Regions from separate parts of the Homo sapiens genome. Here all the other regions are linked to region 3. Evidence: promoter capture Hi-C in 16 types of primary human blood cells and fetal thymus (Javierre and others, 2016). All regions are on one chromosome and are shown on one strand. The core of a region is centred on a gene start or on the middle of the fragment in contact, and the rest is flanking DNA. Distances in the headings are between cores, read along the strand shown. Region 1 overlaps HDAC6 (histone deacetylase 6). Region 2 has its middle 14 kb from the start of ZNF630-AS1. Region 3 holds the start of PORCN (porcupine O-acyltransferase).

What was found. Contacts are between HindIII fragments. The CHiCAGO score rates a contact against its expected background, and 5 or more counts as called.
Region 1: a fragment that was not itself captured here is called in contact with the fragment with the promoter of PORCN in region 3 in 1 of 17 cell types (neutrophils); the score reaches 5.0 in neutrophils.
Region 2: a fragment that was not itself captured here is called in contact with the fragment with the promoter of PORCN in region 3 in 2 of 17 cell types (M2 macrophages and M0 macrophages); the score reaches 7.1 in M2 macrophages.

What each region holds. Positions count from the first base shown.
Region 1 is chrX:48,815,807-48,820,507 of GRCh38, forward strand. It overlaps HDAC6 (histone deacetylase 6), which reads left to right. Exons shown (of 29, transcript NM_006044.4): 17 at 78-246; 18 at 335-463; 19 at 659-827; 20 at 1,520-1,653; 21 at 2,235-2,303; 22 at 2,414-2,606; 23 at 4,300-4,449. Among named protein-coding and RNA genes, the nearest start is that of ERAS, 8.4 kb to the right of the region's middle. The HindIII fragment of the contact is 5,405 bases long and covers 1-4,701 here.
Region 2 is chrX:48,040,001-48,044,897 of GRCh38, forward strand. No RefSeq gene overlaps it. Among named protein-coding and RNA genes, the nearest start is that of ZNF630-AS1, 14 kb to the right of the region's middle. The HindIII fragment of the contact is 940 bases long and covers 3,038-3,977 here.
Region 3 is chrX:48,505,367-48,510,244 of GRCh38, forward strand. It overlaps PORCN (porcupine O-acyltransferase), which reads left to right and starts at 3,626. Exons shown (of 15, transcript NM_203475.3): 1 at 3,626-3,737; 2 at 4,418-4,590. The coding sequence starts at 4,455. It overlaps PORCN-DT (PORCN divergent transcript), which reads right to left and starts at 3,473. Exons shown (of 2, transcript NR_135596.1): 1 at 3,353-3,473; 2 at 1,160-1,689. RefSeq lists a silencer at 3,453-3,852. The HindIII fragment of the contact is 7,257 bases long and covers 378-4,878 here.

The DNA.
Region 1 (4,701 bases), core at 753-3,252, 310 kb after region 3:
TTTGGGTCACCTGAGTTCCAGAGTATGACGGGGATTCAGATTGAGAGGGTAGGACAAACGTGGCCTCCCCCTTTTAGCTGAGACCGTGGAGAGGGACAACATGGAGGAGGACAATGTAGAGGAGAGCGAGGAGGAAGGACCCTGGGAGCCCCCTGTGCTCCCAATCCTGACATGGCCAGTGCTACAGTCTCGCACAGGGCTGGTCTATGACCAAAATATGATGAATCACTGCAACTTGTGGGACAGGTAGGCATTTGGAGGGCTGGATGAGTAGGTGTTGGGGGTCCCTCCCCCTCAGGCACTAAGCCTCTACCTCTCGTTTCCCCACTGCTAGCCACCACCCTGAGGTACCCCAGCGCATCTTGCGGATCATGTGCCGTCTGGAGGAGCTGGGCCTTGCCGGGCGCTGCCTCACCCTGACACCGCGCCCTGCCACAGAGGCTGAGCTGCTCACCTGTCACAGGTCAGACCCCGGTGCCTGGGGTGGGTGGATTCCCAGGACTGTGGATGAGGTCTCAGGGGCTGGAACTTGGGTTTCCCCTCCTGGGGAGCTGCTGCAGGACTTGAGAGGGGCTGAAGTCCCTGTCTTAGGGGTGGGGACCAGGGAGGGGACAGACCCTCCTCACTGTCCTGCGGGTGCTCCTCTCTGTGCTTCCAGTGCTGAGTACGTGGGTCATCTCCGGGCCACAGAGAAAATGAAAACCCGGGAGCTGCACCGTGAGAGTTCCAACTTTGACTCCATCTATATCTGCCCCAGTACCTTCGCCTGTGCACAGCTTGCCACTGGCGCTGCCTGCCGCCTGGTGGAGGCTGTGCTCTCAGGAGAGGTGTGTCCTCTGTGGGCTGGGGAGAGGAGGACCTGGGGGGAATGGAAAAAGAGAGCCATCTGCTGTTTCTGGAGGCTCTGAGAGAGTCAAGCAGGGCCTGAGGAAAGGGGCCATGGGGAGGGGCACGGGAGGGGGTGGGCCTAGAGGCTGGGGGAATAATGGAAGGAACTGGAGAAAGGGAAGGGTGGCCAAGTGCAGTGGCTCACGTCTGTAATCCTAGCGCTTTGAGAAGCTGAGGTGAGCTCAGGAGGTCAAGGCTGCAGTAAGCCATGATTGCACCACTGCACTCTAGCCTGGGCAACAGAGTGAGACCCTGTGTCAAAAAAAAAAAAAGGTCCGGGCGTGATGGCTCACACCTGTAATCCCAGCACTTTGGGAGGCCGAGGTGGGCAGATCACGAGGTCAGGAGATCGAGACCATCCTGGATAACATGGTGAAACCCCGTCTCTACTAAGAAACATACAAAAAATTAGCCGGGCGTGGCAGCAAGCGCCTGTAGTCCTAGCTACTCAGGAGGCTGAGGCAGGAGAATGGCGGGAACCTGGCAGGCGGCGCTTGCAGTGAGCCGAGATGGCGCCACTGCATTCCAGCCTGGGCGACAGAGCGAGACTCCGTCTCAAAAAAAAAAAAAAAAAAGGAAGAAAGGAAGGTGAGGGCAGGCTGTCCGATCTTAGCACCCTGCTGCTTCCCAGGTTCTGAATGGTGCTGCTGTGGTGCGTCCCCCAGGACACCACGCAGAGCAGGATGCAGCTTGCGGTTTTTGCTTTTTCAACTCTGTGGCTGTGGCTGCTCGCCATGCCCAGACTATCAGTGGGCATGCCCTACGGTAAGGACTCCCTGGGGACCCCCCAAATCCTGATCCTTGTGGGGACCTGGATGCTCCCCCCAGCCCATTGTTTACTCATGCCCCATGGTCCAGCTCCCAGGACTTCCTTCCCCAGAAAGAAGTAAGGGTGCAGTCCTTACCCAGAGAAGGACCGAGGATGGAGCCTCTCAGTGCTTATTTAGATAGGACCCCCAGATCATGTTACCTGGGCACTTACAAAACAGGATCCAGGGTCCCACCCCAGCATTTCTGGCCTATAGCAGCTGCCTCGACAGAACCCAGGTCTAGGCTCCTGATGCATACTCCAGAAGACCCACGAACCAGCCCCCAGCATTAGCTGCCCAAGGCCCAGGGTCCAGTTCCCTAGCAATGACCCAGAAGAGCCCAGGGCCCAGCCCCGAGCACTTGCTCAGGCCTACCGGGCAGCCCTTGGGAACCAGGATCAGACTTTTCTCCTTAACTGATAGGACCCAGGGTCCTGCCACTCAGCACTAAATGCCCCTGCAGACCCCAGGGGTCTAGCCCAGCCCTCTTCCAGGGCGTGAGTATCGTCGGTTACTGAGGTGCTGTCTCCTCCCCAGGATCCTGATTGTGGATTGGGATGTCCACCACGGTAATGGAACTCAGCACATGTTTGAGGATGACCCCAGGTAAGGGCTGCAGTCAGGGGCCGCAGTGTGATCAGGGAGGCGGGTGAGCACCTCAGGGGTACTGGAGCCCCTAACCAGCCATGGTCCGCTTCCCACCCCCTCCCTGGCAGTGTGCTATATGTGTCCCTGCACCGCTATGATCATGGCACCTTCTTCCCCATGGGGGATGAGGGTGCCAGCAGCCAGATCGGCCGGGCTGCGGGCACAGGCTTCACCGTCAACGTGGCATGGAACGGGCCCCGCATGGGTGATGCTGACTACCTAGCTGCCTGGCATCGCCTGGTGCTTCCCATTGCCTACGAGGTACAGCTCAGGATAGATCGCAGGACGTATGTGACACGCCTGTGCAGGTGGCAGCCTGGACCTGCCTCCTTGGCATGTGTGTGTGTGACTACCATGTGGCTGATGATATGAGACAGCGCATGGGTGTTTAATGAGGCTACCAGGGCAGTTGGTGGCTGTGATCACCTTGTGTATTTGTGCACAGATGGCTGTACATGACTGCCTTCTCTGTGTGACACTGTGTGAGTGACTGTCTTGGCTGTGTGTGTGAGGGCCTTCTGACTATGCACCAATGGCCCGTGTCCTGGCTGGATCTGTGTTGTATGTGCGTGCCATCACAAGTGCTTGAGTATGTGCGTGTGCGACTCTGTGCAGGCAGGTATTTCTCACCTTTTCTCTGTGTGATGGGTGTGATACTGTATGTCACTAAATGCAACCATCTCTGTGACAGCCTGTGTGGGACCTTCTGGATGTGGAAGGCTGTGTGTGACAGCAGTCACTGTCTGGCTGTCTGCCCTGGCTGTTTGTGTGTATGTCTCTGACTGGGAGGTAGCTGCCTTCCCTCTGTGTGAGCTAGGAGGCTGGTGGCTTGTGTATGGCTGACTCTGGGAGGGAGGGAAAGGGTGTGAGCACCGCTCTGTCACCCTGGGCGCCGGTGTGCATCTTTGGATCTGCATGTGCATCTGACTGTGCATGGGTAGCCAGGACAGCCTTCTGTGTGTGTACAACTGTATGTGCAAATAACCAGCTCTTGTGGACATACCAGAGTGCATGTCGCCATTGTGGCTGTGTGGTGATGGCATGTGTATGTGACTGTGCAGGATGGCTGTGGGTTATTGTCCTCTTTGAGAAACTGTGTGTGTGTACATGACTAGTGCAGATATATAGTACTGATCTATATGGTACTGTCTGTGTGGCAGTACGTGTGGCTCTGTGTGACCATCTTCTCTGTATGTGGTTCTTGCGTTGCCATCTTCTGTTTTGGAAGTGTGCAAGCACCTCTCTTTGGCACTATGTATATAAAACCCTGTATCTTGTGTATGTGTGTCCCACGTTTGACCCTGGGGTATGTGTGTGTGAGGACATGTCTCTGTCTCTCTGTTTTTCATGTCACTCTCTTGACGTGTCAGTCTGTCTCATGTCCCCATCTGTCCCTTTTTTTTTTTTTTTGAAATGGAGTCTTGCTCTGTCACCCAGGCTAGAGTGCAGTGGTGCAATCTCGGCTCACTGCCAGCTCCGCCTCCTGGGTTCATGCCATTCTCCTGCCTCAGCCTCCTGCGTAGCTGGGACTACAGGCTCCCGCCACCACGTCTGGCTAATTTTTTGTATTTTTAGTAGAGACAGGGTTTCACTGTGTTAGCCAGGATGGTCTCAATCTGACCTCATGATCTGCCCGCCTCGGCCTCCCAAAGTGCTGGGATTACAGGCCTGAGCCACCATGCCCGGCCCCCATCTGTCCCTTTCTGCCATCTCCATGTCTCTAAGTCTGCATCTATTTCTTCTACCTCTGAGTCTGTATTTCTTTTCTTCCCTTCTTCATTTTCAGTCTCTGCTTTTGTGTCTCCTAGTCTCCAGGTTCTGTGTCTCCATCTCTCTGACTTGCATCTCCATGTCTTCATTTGTCCTTTTCTCCATGTCTCTGGGTCGCCATCACTTACTGCCTACCAAAAGCCCCTACCCTCATGCTTATACATCTCTTCTCTCCCTGCCTCAGTTTAACCCAGAACTGGTGCTGGTCTCAGCTGGCTTTGATGCTGCACGGGGGGATCCGCTGGGGGGCTGCCAGGTGTCACCTGAGGGTTATGCCCACCTCACCCACCTGCTGATGGGCCTTGCCAGTGGCCGCATTATCCTTATCCTAGAGGTAACTTTCTCTTGGTCCCTCTTCCCACAGTGGGAGGGTAGTTTGGAAATGTTGGCACCATCACTCAGGACAGTTTCCTGAAATCTCCTTTGAGTGTCCCTGCCTGGGATTGTTGGCACATACTGGGTAGTAATAAGAATAACAGCAACATTAACAGCCTTAATTGAGTGCTCACTATGTGCAGAGCACTCTTCTGAGCACCTCATGTGTCTTATTCATTCAGTTACTTGGCAAAGCAGCCTTATGAGGTAG
Region 2 (4,897 bases), core at 2,258-4,757, 470 kb before region 3:
AGTTTCTTTTGCTGTGCAGACGCTCTTTAGTTTAATTAGATCCCATTTGTCAATTTTGGCTTTTGTTGCCATTGCTTTTGGTGTTTTAGACATGAAGTCCTTGCCCATGCCTATGTCCTGAATGGTAATGCCTAGGTTTTCTTCTAGGGTTTTTATGGTTTTAGGTCTAACATGTAAGTCTTTAATCCATCTTGAATTAATTTTTGTATAAGGTGTAAGGAAGGGATCCAGTTTCAGCTTTCTACATATGGCTAGCCAGTTTTCCCAGCACCATTTATTAAATAGGGAATCCTTTCCCCATTGCTTGTTTTTCTCAGGTTTGTCAAAGATCAGATAGTTGTAGATATACGGCATTATTTCTGAGGGCTCTGTTCTGTTCTATTGATCTATATCTCTGTTTTGGTACCAGTACCATGCTGTTTTGGTTGCTGTAGCCTTGGCAGCAGTGTTAGTGATGTACAGAGGACAATGCAGAGGCCCTTTTAACAGGGTTTAAGATTAGTTTTCTGGTGATGTTGACTTTAGAGAACAAGGTCTCCAATTTCTAGGTTGTACAATGGTTTGGATAGGAAAATTGGAGGAAAATCAGCCTCAACCTATTGAAGGTAAGTTTGAGTATAATTGATAAATATTTTGAAGTAATTTAGATTGTCTGAATTGACCAGGTTAGGATATTTGAAAGCCTAAATAGAATAGGGAATTCTCATGGGGCTTGCCAGTTATTATTGTATATGGGTATAGTTTGTGTGATCTGGCAGGAGAGGATCAGAAGGCAATCAGGGCTAAGGGTAAAATTTTAGGCCATTGCGTATTGAGTTTTTCCATCAGTTTAGCAAGCTTTATTGTTTGTTTGGTTTGGTTTTGTTTTTTTTACAGATAGGATCTCACTATGTTGCTCAGGCTGGTCTCAAATTCCTGGGCTCAAGCAATCCTCCCACCTCAGCCTCCCAAGTAGCTGGGACCATAGGCATGTGCCACCACACCCAGCTAATTTTTAATTGTTTTTTTTGTAGAGATGGGATCTTGCTTTGTTGCCCAAGCTGGTCTTGAACTCCTGGCCTCAAGTGATCCTCCTGCCTTGGCCTCCCAAAGTGCTGGGATTACAGGCGTGAGCCACCATACCCACTTTAGCAAGTTTTAATTTTAATAGTCCATTAGGTCTGTCTATTATTACAGGAAAGATAGGTGATAAGGGATGATCCGGAGAGATAATAAGGACTACATATTTTTGTGATACAGGAAGAACGACTTGGATTTCTTAGATTACTTTACTGGTGAAATGGGTCCCTCAGCCACTTAAAAAGAGCTAATGGAATTGTCCATGTGCAAAACACTTGCCCTGTTAATTTAGGGAAGGCTAAGTATTTTTTTTACAACACTTCCCATACACTTTATATAATATTAACTAAATCTAATTATTTTAGTACCTCCTTTTAAAAAGTGAAAGAACAAATCATTTTGTGATTTCCTTGGGACCCTCTGGAAAATCTCAAAGGCAGGTTTAGGTATAAAACATACCATTTAATATTAGATTTGGAGCTGGTCGCAGTGGCTCATGCCTATAACCCCAGCACTTTGGGAGGCCGAGACCAGCGGATCACTTGAGGTCAGGAGTTTGAGACCAGCCTGGCCAACATGGTGAAACCCCGTCTCTACTTAAAAAATACAAAAATTAGCCAGGCATGGTGGCACACACCTATAATTCCAGCTACTCGGGAGGCTGAGGCACGAAAATCGCTTGAACCCGGGAGGCAGAGGTTGCAGCGACCGGAGATGGAGCCACCGCACTCCAGCCTGGGCGACAGATTGAGACTCTGTCTCAAAAAGAAAAAAGAAAAAAGATTAGATTTGAGGAAGGCAAAATGTCAAAAATTGTTAGGATACTTGAAAATTTGGTTAAATAGGGTCATGGGTCACTGATAAACAATACTTGGCTACCATTTAACTAAAGTGATTTTAAAGTAAATATAGGAGGTAACATGGTTGTAAAAATAGCTCTTTAAAAAGTGAAAAAACTTGATTCTCTTAAATAACTAAGGATATGAAAAAGTCAACATAAAGCACAGGTATAAAGAGCTGGGTGTCCTCTAATTCAATCCACTACTGACTATCTACTTGGAGACAGAGTCAGCTCCCACAAGTTGAGGACTCAGTCTCACAAGACTGTCTCCCATTTGAGATGCCAGTTGCAAGCACATATTGAGACCTGTACTTCTTACCAACTGGCTGTAAGTCAGGATTCCCACGACCCCCCTGAGGTTCAATTCATTTGCTAGAGCAGCTCACAGAACCCAGGCAAACACTTTACTTATGTTTACTGGTTTATTAATAAGGGATATAATGAAGGATGAAGATTAACAGCCAGATAGCGAAGATGCATAGAGCAAGGCATGAGGGAAGGGGTGTGGAGTTCCCATGCCGCCTCCAGAGCACCACCCTCCAAGAACCCACACATTTCCAGCTATCTGGAAGCTCCCCAAGCCCTGTCCTTTTGGGTTTTTATAGAGGCTCCATTACCTAGATGTAATTGATTACATCATTAGCCATTGATGATCAATTCAACCTTCAGCCCCAGAGTTGAGGGATGGGGCTGGAGGTCCCAACCTTCTAATCACATGGTTGATTCCCCTGGCAACCAGCTCCCATCCTGAGGCTATCCAGGAGGACATTAAGAGGTCACCTCATTAGAGCAAAAGATGCTTCTATCACCCAGGAAATTCCAAGGGATTTAGAAGCTCTGTGTCAGACACTCCTATCACACAAGAAATTACAACGGTCTTAAGAGCTTTGTATCAGAAACTGGGGTCAAAGACCAAATATTAAAACAGAATATTTTTATCATCTCTCTCTCCTGTAATGATAGACAGACCTAACGGACTATTAAAATTAAAGCTTGCTAAACTGGACATAGTGGCTTACGCCTGTAATCCCAGCACTTTGGGAGGTCAAGGCACCAGGAGTTCAAGACCAGCTTGAGCAACATAGTGAGACCCCATCTGTAAAAGACAAAACTAAACCAAAAACAAACAAACAATAAAGCTTAGTAAACTGATGGAAAAACTCAATCTCCAATGAACTAAAGTTTTACCCTCTCTGGGACTCTCCTTCACCATCTGTAAAATGAAGCCAGGGCTCATTTACGTGGGATTCCCATGAGGATCAAGTAAAACTGTGCTGGAAGACTTTAGCACAACACATTCCTGTCTGGCAGCAGAAGGGGATCAGCCTTGAGGTATAAAATTCTGGGTTGCAATCAGTGGTGTGCTGATAACAGCTGGCCCCAGCGAAATGGCACAAGCCAGCTCAGCATGGCTCGATTTATGTGAAGTTTCTAGAAGAGGCTAAACTAATCTATGGTGAGAAAAGTCAGGACAATGCTTGCCTCTGGAGGGGGTGGCAGCAGGGATTGATAAGGAAAGGGCATGAGGGAACTGTCTCAGGTGATGGTCGTGTTTAATGTTTTGATAGGGGTTTACATTTGTCAAAATTCTTTGAATGATACACTTGAGATTTATACATTTCACTGTATACAATTTTACTTAAAACTGTAAATATTGAACTCTAGTTAATGATATGTACGCTGAATTATCTAGAAGCGAAGTGCACTGAAATCTGCAACTTACTTTGAATTGCACCAAAAAATAACATGGATTGATGGACAGATAGAAACATGGATAGATGAAAAGAGATGAGATAAAGCCAGGTTAACAACATGTAACAGTCTGGGTGTAGGGTATATTGGCACTTACCAAACAATTCTTTGTATCTTCTGTATGCTTGAAGATTTAATTATGAAAAATGTTGAGGAAACATACTGAGCATATCTTACATACAAAGTTGTTTATCTTTGCCCCATTGCTTCTAGTAGTTTCATTTACATATATTGATTATAATTTTATCCACTAATGACTTTTACTTTGCAGAGAAAACTAGGAAGTAGATAACTATGAACTGTCTATCATAGAGCAGGCTAGCAAAGCTTATGAATATATATCTCACAATCTAGTTGATACAATATTGGCTTATTCGACTAGTAAACCTGTACACATTTAGGAAGAACATACCAAGTAGAAAGAAGTGTATACTTCTGTTATACTTAATGGTAATAACTCATAAAACATAGCTATTTTTATTAAGCCAACAATATTAAGCTAATTTTGTTTGCCAAAGATTTACCTAAATTAGGTAACTTGAATTTTTTTTTTTTAGATGAATTTCCTTCTTGTTGCCCAGGCTGGAGTGCAGTGGTGTGCTCATGGCTCACCGCAACTTCCGCCTCCTGGGTTCAAGCGATTCTCCTGCCTCAGCCTCCCGAGTAGCTGGGATTATAGGCATGCACCACCACGCCCGGCTAATTTTGTATTTTTAGTAAAGATGGAGTTTCACCACGTTGACCAGGCTGGTCTTGAACTCCTGACCTCAGGTGATCCACCCGCCTTAGCCTCCCAAAGTGCTGGGATTACAGGTGTGAGCCACCACGCCCGGCAGTAAATTGAATTTTTAAAACATTTATGTTAGGTTTTAGAGAATACTTTTTCCCCCACACTGGAAGTATTAGAAGTTCAGATTTTTTTTTTCTGACAGTTTTAGGGTTTTTAAGGAATTTTATAAATTAATTTGATAGTATCATCCAGAGGTAGAAAAATATCACATATGCATAAAATAAATACATAAACATACAGGCAGATGCAAATAAAGATCTTACAGGTTTCATTCTAAAATTTTAGCCACGATTCAGGCATAAACACAGAAATACAAAACTCACTAGTCAATACAACAGAGTTGGCTCATTGTCTTTGCCCCACTTTGTATTTTTATCAGAATTCTGTTTCTGGCAGACGGGACAAGTTGAGGTTTACCTATTCAACATGAGGGCTAAAGCTTCCCATCAATATTT
Region 3 (4,878 bases), core at 2,376-4,875:
GTAAAAGAAAAATCATTATTTGGCCACCATCAGAGTAGTTATTGCTTCAGGCAAGAATCACCAATGAATGCTAAAGTAGTGAGTAAAAGTTTGATTTAAAAAAAATTGCAGAGTTACAGTCTCAAAGTATCTCCCGAAAAGCTACTTATTAATTACAAAAGGGGATCATGCCTGTAATCCCAGCACTTTGGGAGGCCAATGCAGGAGGATTGCTTAAGCCCAGGAATCCGAGACCAGCCTGGGCAACATAGTGAGACTGTTTCTACAAAAAATTTAAAAATTAGCCGGGCATGGTGACTCACACCTGTAGTCCTTGAAGATTACATGAGCCCAGGAGTTCAAAGATGCAGTGAACCATGATTGTGTCAATGCCCTCAAGCTTGCGTAATAGGGCAAGACCCTGTCTCCAAAAAAAAAGAAAAAAAATTACAAAGGGAAAAATAGTAAATTTATACTGGTGAAAACTAGAAGACCACTTTAAGCAAAAGATCAATGCTAATACTAACAATTTCGAGACTAACTGAACCCTCCTGCCTCCTGATAACGCTGAGAACACAGCGTCACTTCTGTGGAATTCCTGCCAAAAATGCAGAATTCAAATCTAATCATGAGGAGACATCAGATAAACCCAAATTGAAGGACATTCTTCCAAAGAACTGGTCTGTGCTCTCCCAAAACATCAAGATCATGAAAGTTAAGTGAAGATGGAGACATTGTTCCACATTGGAGGAGACTAAAAAAACCTGATAACAGAATGTATCTTGTGACCCTATGATTCCCTTTTCCTATACAAGGACACTATTGACATGCCCACCAGGGTGGCTAGAACCAAAAAGTCAGATAACAAGTATTTGTGAGGATGTGGAGCAATGGAAACCTCATACTATGCTGGTAGCAATGTAAAAAAAGAAAAAAAAGTCCTTGCTCTTAGGATATTCATACTGAAGTATTTAGTTAAAAGGGTGTCATATCCGCAACCACTAACAAATAATTCAGAAAAATCACTGTATATCATTCAGAAAAATTATATATATGTAAATTACATATGTATATACATGGGGAGAAAGAAACGGACAGAGACAGAGAGAGAGCAAATATGTTATCATTATAAGGCTTGGCATTTTTGTCAGTCCCATAAGTGAAAAATAGTATATCATTGTTTTTAATTTGTATCTCTTTAATTATGGAGAGCTCATCTAAAACACCCCAGAAACCACAACCTAGAATGACCACAGACATTTATTGAGTGTCCACCCTCTACTAAGCTCCAGTGATAAAAATATGAAGCACAACATCTGGTAGATGTAAAATGGTATTATATCTCACTGTTGTTTTAATTTTACATTTCCCTGAGCAGTAAAGAGATTGGGTTATCTTTTCATATATTATACATATTGACCATTTTAGGTTTCTTCTGCTGTGAATTACCTATTTGTACCCAATGTCTATTGCCAAGTGTATTGTTTGTCCTCTTCGGATTTGTAGATGTTCGTTATATATCCTAAAACCTAGATCCTACTTCTTTGTGACACAGGTCAAAAGCCTAGATGGAAACAATCAAGTCCGCAAAGCCCAGGAGCACATGTGGTAAGAATCTTCCAGTTTTAAATGCCAAGTCTTGCAATTGAGGGAAGTATTTCTGGTAGGTGCTGTGGGTCATTGTTGACTCAACTTGAGTGGGTTTGACAACTGAGAAAAAAATTAAAATGAAATTTAATTCATAAAATGTATGTCCTGTATTCTGCTGTTAAGGAAAAGAATTGATATTTGTGCATCTGGTCTAAGCTATTATTCCTTATATATACATATTCTTACCGTATTAAATGTTTTTTGTTTGTAATACATGAATACTAATTTATGAGCTAGAACTCCATTTAACTTCATGTTAAAATAGAGAGAAAATATACATTTCTCTTCAATTACCATTGGTGTTTCCCAGCAAAAACCTGCCAAGCCCACTCTTTTGTTTAACAGAAAAGGACAATGGAGACGGGTGAGTGAACATGACTTGCCCAGCTCCATACAGGCCATTGTTAATCTGATTAAAATCTGTTTCAGTTGGCTGCCCAGGTCAGGGTGGCGTCCAGTTTGACCTGGGCTTCCTTCTCCCTTCCACGTCACAGCTAAGCATGTAGTGCAGTAAGCGCCCAGTAAGTGCTCTTTTGGAAAAATAGGCCCTTCATCAGCCTAGGTACAAAGGGGAATGCCTAGAAACTGCAGCAGTAGGGTAGGTAGAAGGCGGGTGCTACATAAATCTTTAGTGTTGGTGCAGATAGAGGTGCGGATGGGGCCAGTGTAAGCGCTTTCTTTTTTATTTTATTTATTTATTTATTTAGAGAAGGAGTTTCGCTCTTGTTTATTTATTTATTTATTTTGGAGAAGGAGTTTTGCTCTTGTCACCCAGGCTGGAGTGCAATGGCGTGATCTCGGCTCACTGCAACCTCCGTCTCCTGGGCTCAAGTGATTCTCCTGCCTCAGCCTCCGGAGTAGCTGGGATTACAGGCGCCCAGCTAAATTTTTTGTATTTTTAGTAGAGACAGGGTTTCGCCATATTGGCCAGCCTGGTCTCAAACTCATGACCTCAGGTGATCCATCCGCCTCGGCCTTCCAAAGTGCTGGGTTACAGGTGTGAGCCACCACGCCCAGTCTTTATTTATTTATTTTGAGACGGAGTTTCGCTCTTGTAGCCCACAATGACGCGATCTTGGCTCACTGCAACCTCTGCCTCCTGATTCTCCTGCTTTAACCTCCCGAGTAGCTGGGATTACAAGCGTGCGCCACCACGCCTGGCTAATTTTTGTATTTTTAGTAGAGACGGGGTTTCGCCATGTTGGCCAGGCTGGTCTCGAACTCCTGACCTCAAGCTATCCTCCTACCCTTGGCCTCCCGAAGTGCTGGGTTTATAGGCGTGAGCCACCGAGCCTGGCCCTTAAGAGCTTTATAAATGCCCCCCTTTTAAGTGCTCGGTACTAGCCTCCCTCTAGTTCACAGAGAACATTTACTAGTCGCTGGGGTCACCTTCGAAGCAAAGAGTCTGCTGGGGAATTAAGCATGCAAATCACTTCTCAACGACGACACGCCAAGTGCTCACAGCTCGTCCCCAGGGGAAGCACAGGCGCCTAATTTGTGTTCCTAGGTGACACAGTCATTACTTATAAATGTTCCTGGCCGGTCCCAGGAGGTGGGAGGGTTGGGAGTTACTTCGGTTCTCTCAAAGGTTGGGGAAGGAGAGATCTCGGTTTGTTTTCCCATCTGTGAAACGGGGACACCACGGTATTTAGAGGACGTGCGCGGGTGACTATTTGGGGGTGCAGCGGCTTCCCTCCTCCCTCCCCCATCTTTCCCTTCTCACTTCCAAGGCTTGGAAATTTGGAGATTCGGAAGTTTGTTCTTGGATGGCCAGAAATCCTCCGGAGGCAGACGGTCTGGGGCTGAAACCGCCACAGGCCGGAAAGGTGCGGGCGTGAACGTCCTGCGCGCCGACGTCCCCCCGCGCCGGTCTCCCCTCAATCCTCCTGCTCCCCTCCTCCGCGTCCCCGTCCCCGCCCCCCTCCTGCTCTCCCATTGGCCGAGCCGGCGGCCGGGCCGCCCCGGGATTTAAAGGGCCCGCTCGCCGCGCCGCTCTGGGAGCCGCTGCTGGTCCCGGCCTTGCGGCCTGCGGGGGAGGCTGCCCGGAGGAGGCAGCGGCGGCGGCAGCGCGTCCTCGGTCCCCAGGACCACGGCTTCTTTCCTGCCAGGTAGGTCGCCAGTAGTGCGCACGCGGCTCCCCAGCTCCCATCCCTGGGCCGGCCTCCCCAGGCGGATCTGTAGCGCGAGTGCTAGGACCCCCTCCCCATCACCTTTCCGACTCTCCCTCAGGCTATGTCTCCTACCACCACCTCCTTGCAGCCCCCGGACCTGGGCAGGACTTTGTTGGCGGCCTCTCGCCGGGTGGGGATGAGATGGGGGGCGCGGAGGATACAGGACACCCCCCCTCCCCGTGCCGCCGCATCCATACAAGGAGAGATGCACACGGCCCCCAAGTGTCACAGAATCCCCCTCTCTGCCCTCCACTCAGAGCGACTCTACCTTGGAAACCAGGGATTCCCCTTCCCGTCGCCCGCCCCATTTGATATATGGGCCTGAAATGTATGCCATCCCATCACCATCGGACTGGACTGTTCACAGCACTGGAGAGACAGAGGTCCTTCATTCACTCCAGGTCACAGGCTGTGCGTGTGCATGCCGAACACCCACATGCACACAGTTGGTGGCTCAGTCTGATGTACCTGACTTCTCACGCCTTCCCCCAGTCCTCCAGTACCGTGCCTCTACATGGGCTGGGCAGCCCCAAACTGAAATGTGAGTGCCAGAGTGCATCCTTTAAGCGAGGTCTGCCCCACGGACACCCGCTCCCTCTGTGTCCCTGCTTTGACAGATCTATCCATCTGGCCATCCATCCGTGGGGGTCTGCAATGGCCACCTTTAGCCGCCAGGAATTTTTCCAGCAGCTACTGCAAGGCTGTCTCCTGCCTACTGCCCAGCAGGGCCTTGACCAGATCTGGCTGCTCCTTGCCATCTGCCTCGCCTGCCGCCTCCTCTGGAGGCTCGGTAAGTGCCTGCCATACCGTGTGCCACCATGCCAGGCCATATCAGACCTCCCACATTCATCCATATCGAGCCACACCTTACCCTGTCACATCCTGCCAGGCCCTAGCATGTCCAAGCTGGACCCCAACATGTTCAGCCCCACCACATCCCACCAGGCCAAACCCCATTCCACCATACCACATCCTACTATGCCAGCCACCCCATGCCATGCCACACCGAGCCACATCCTGCCATGCCAAGCCATGCCCTTCAGTATTCCTGAGTTCTGGGATTCCAGAAAGCTGAGAT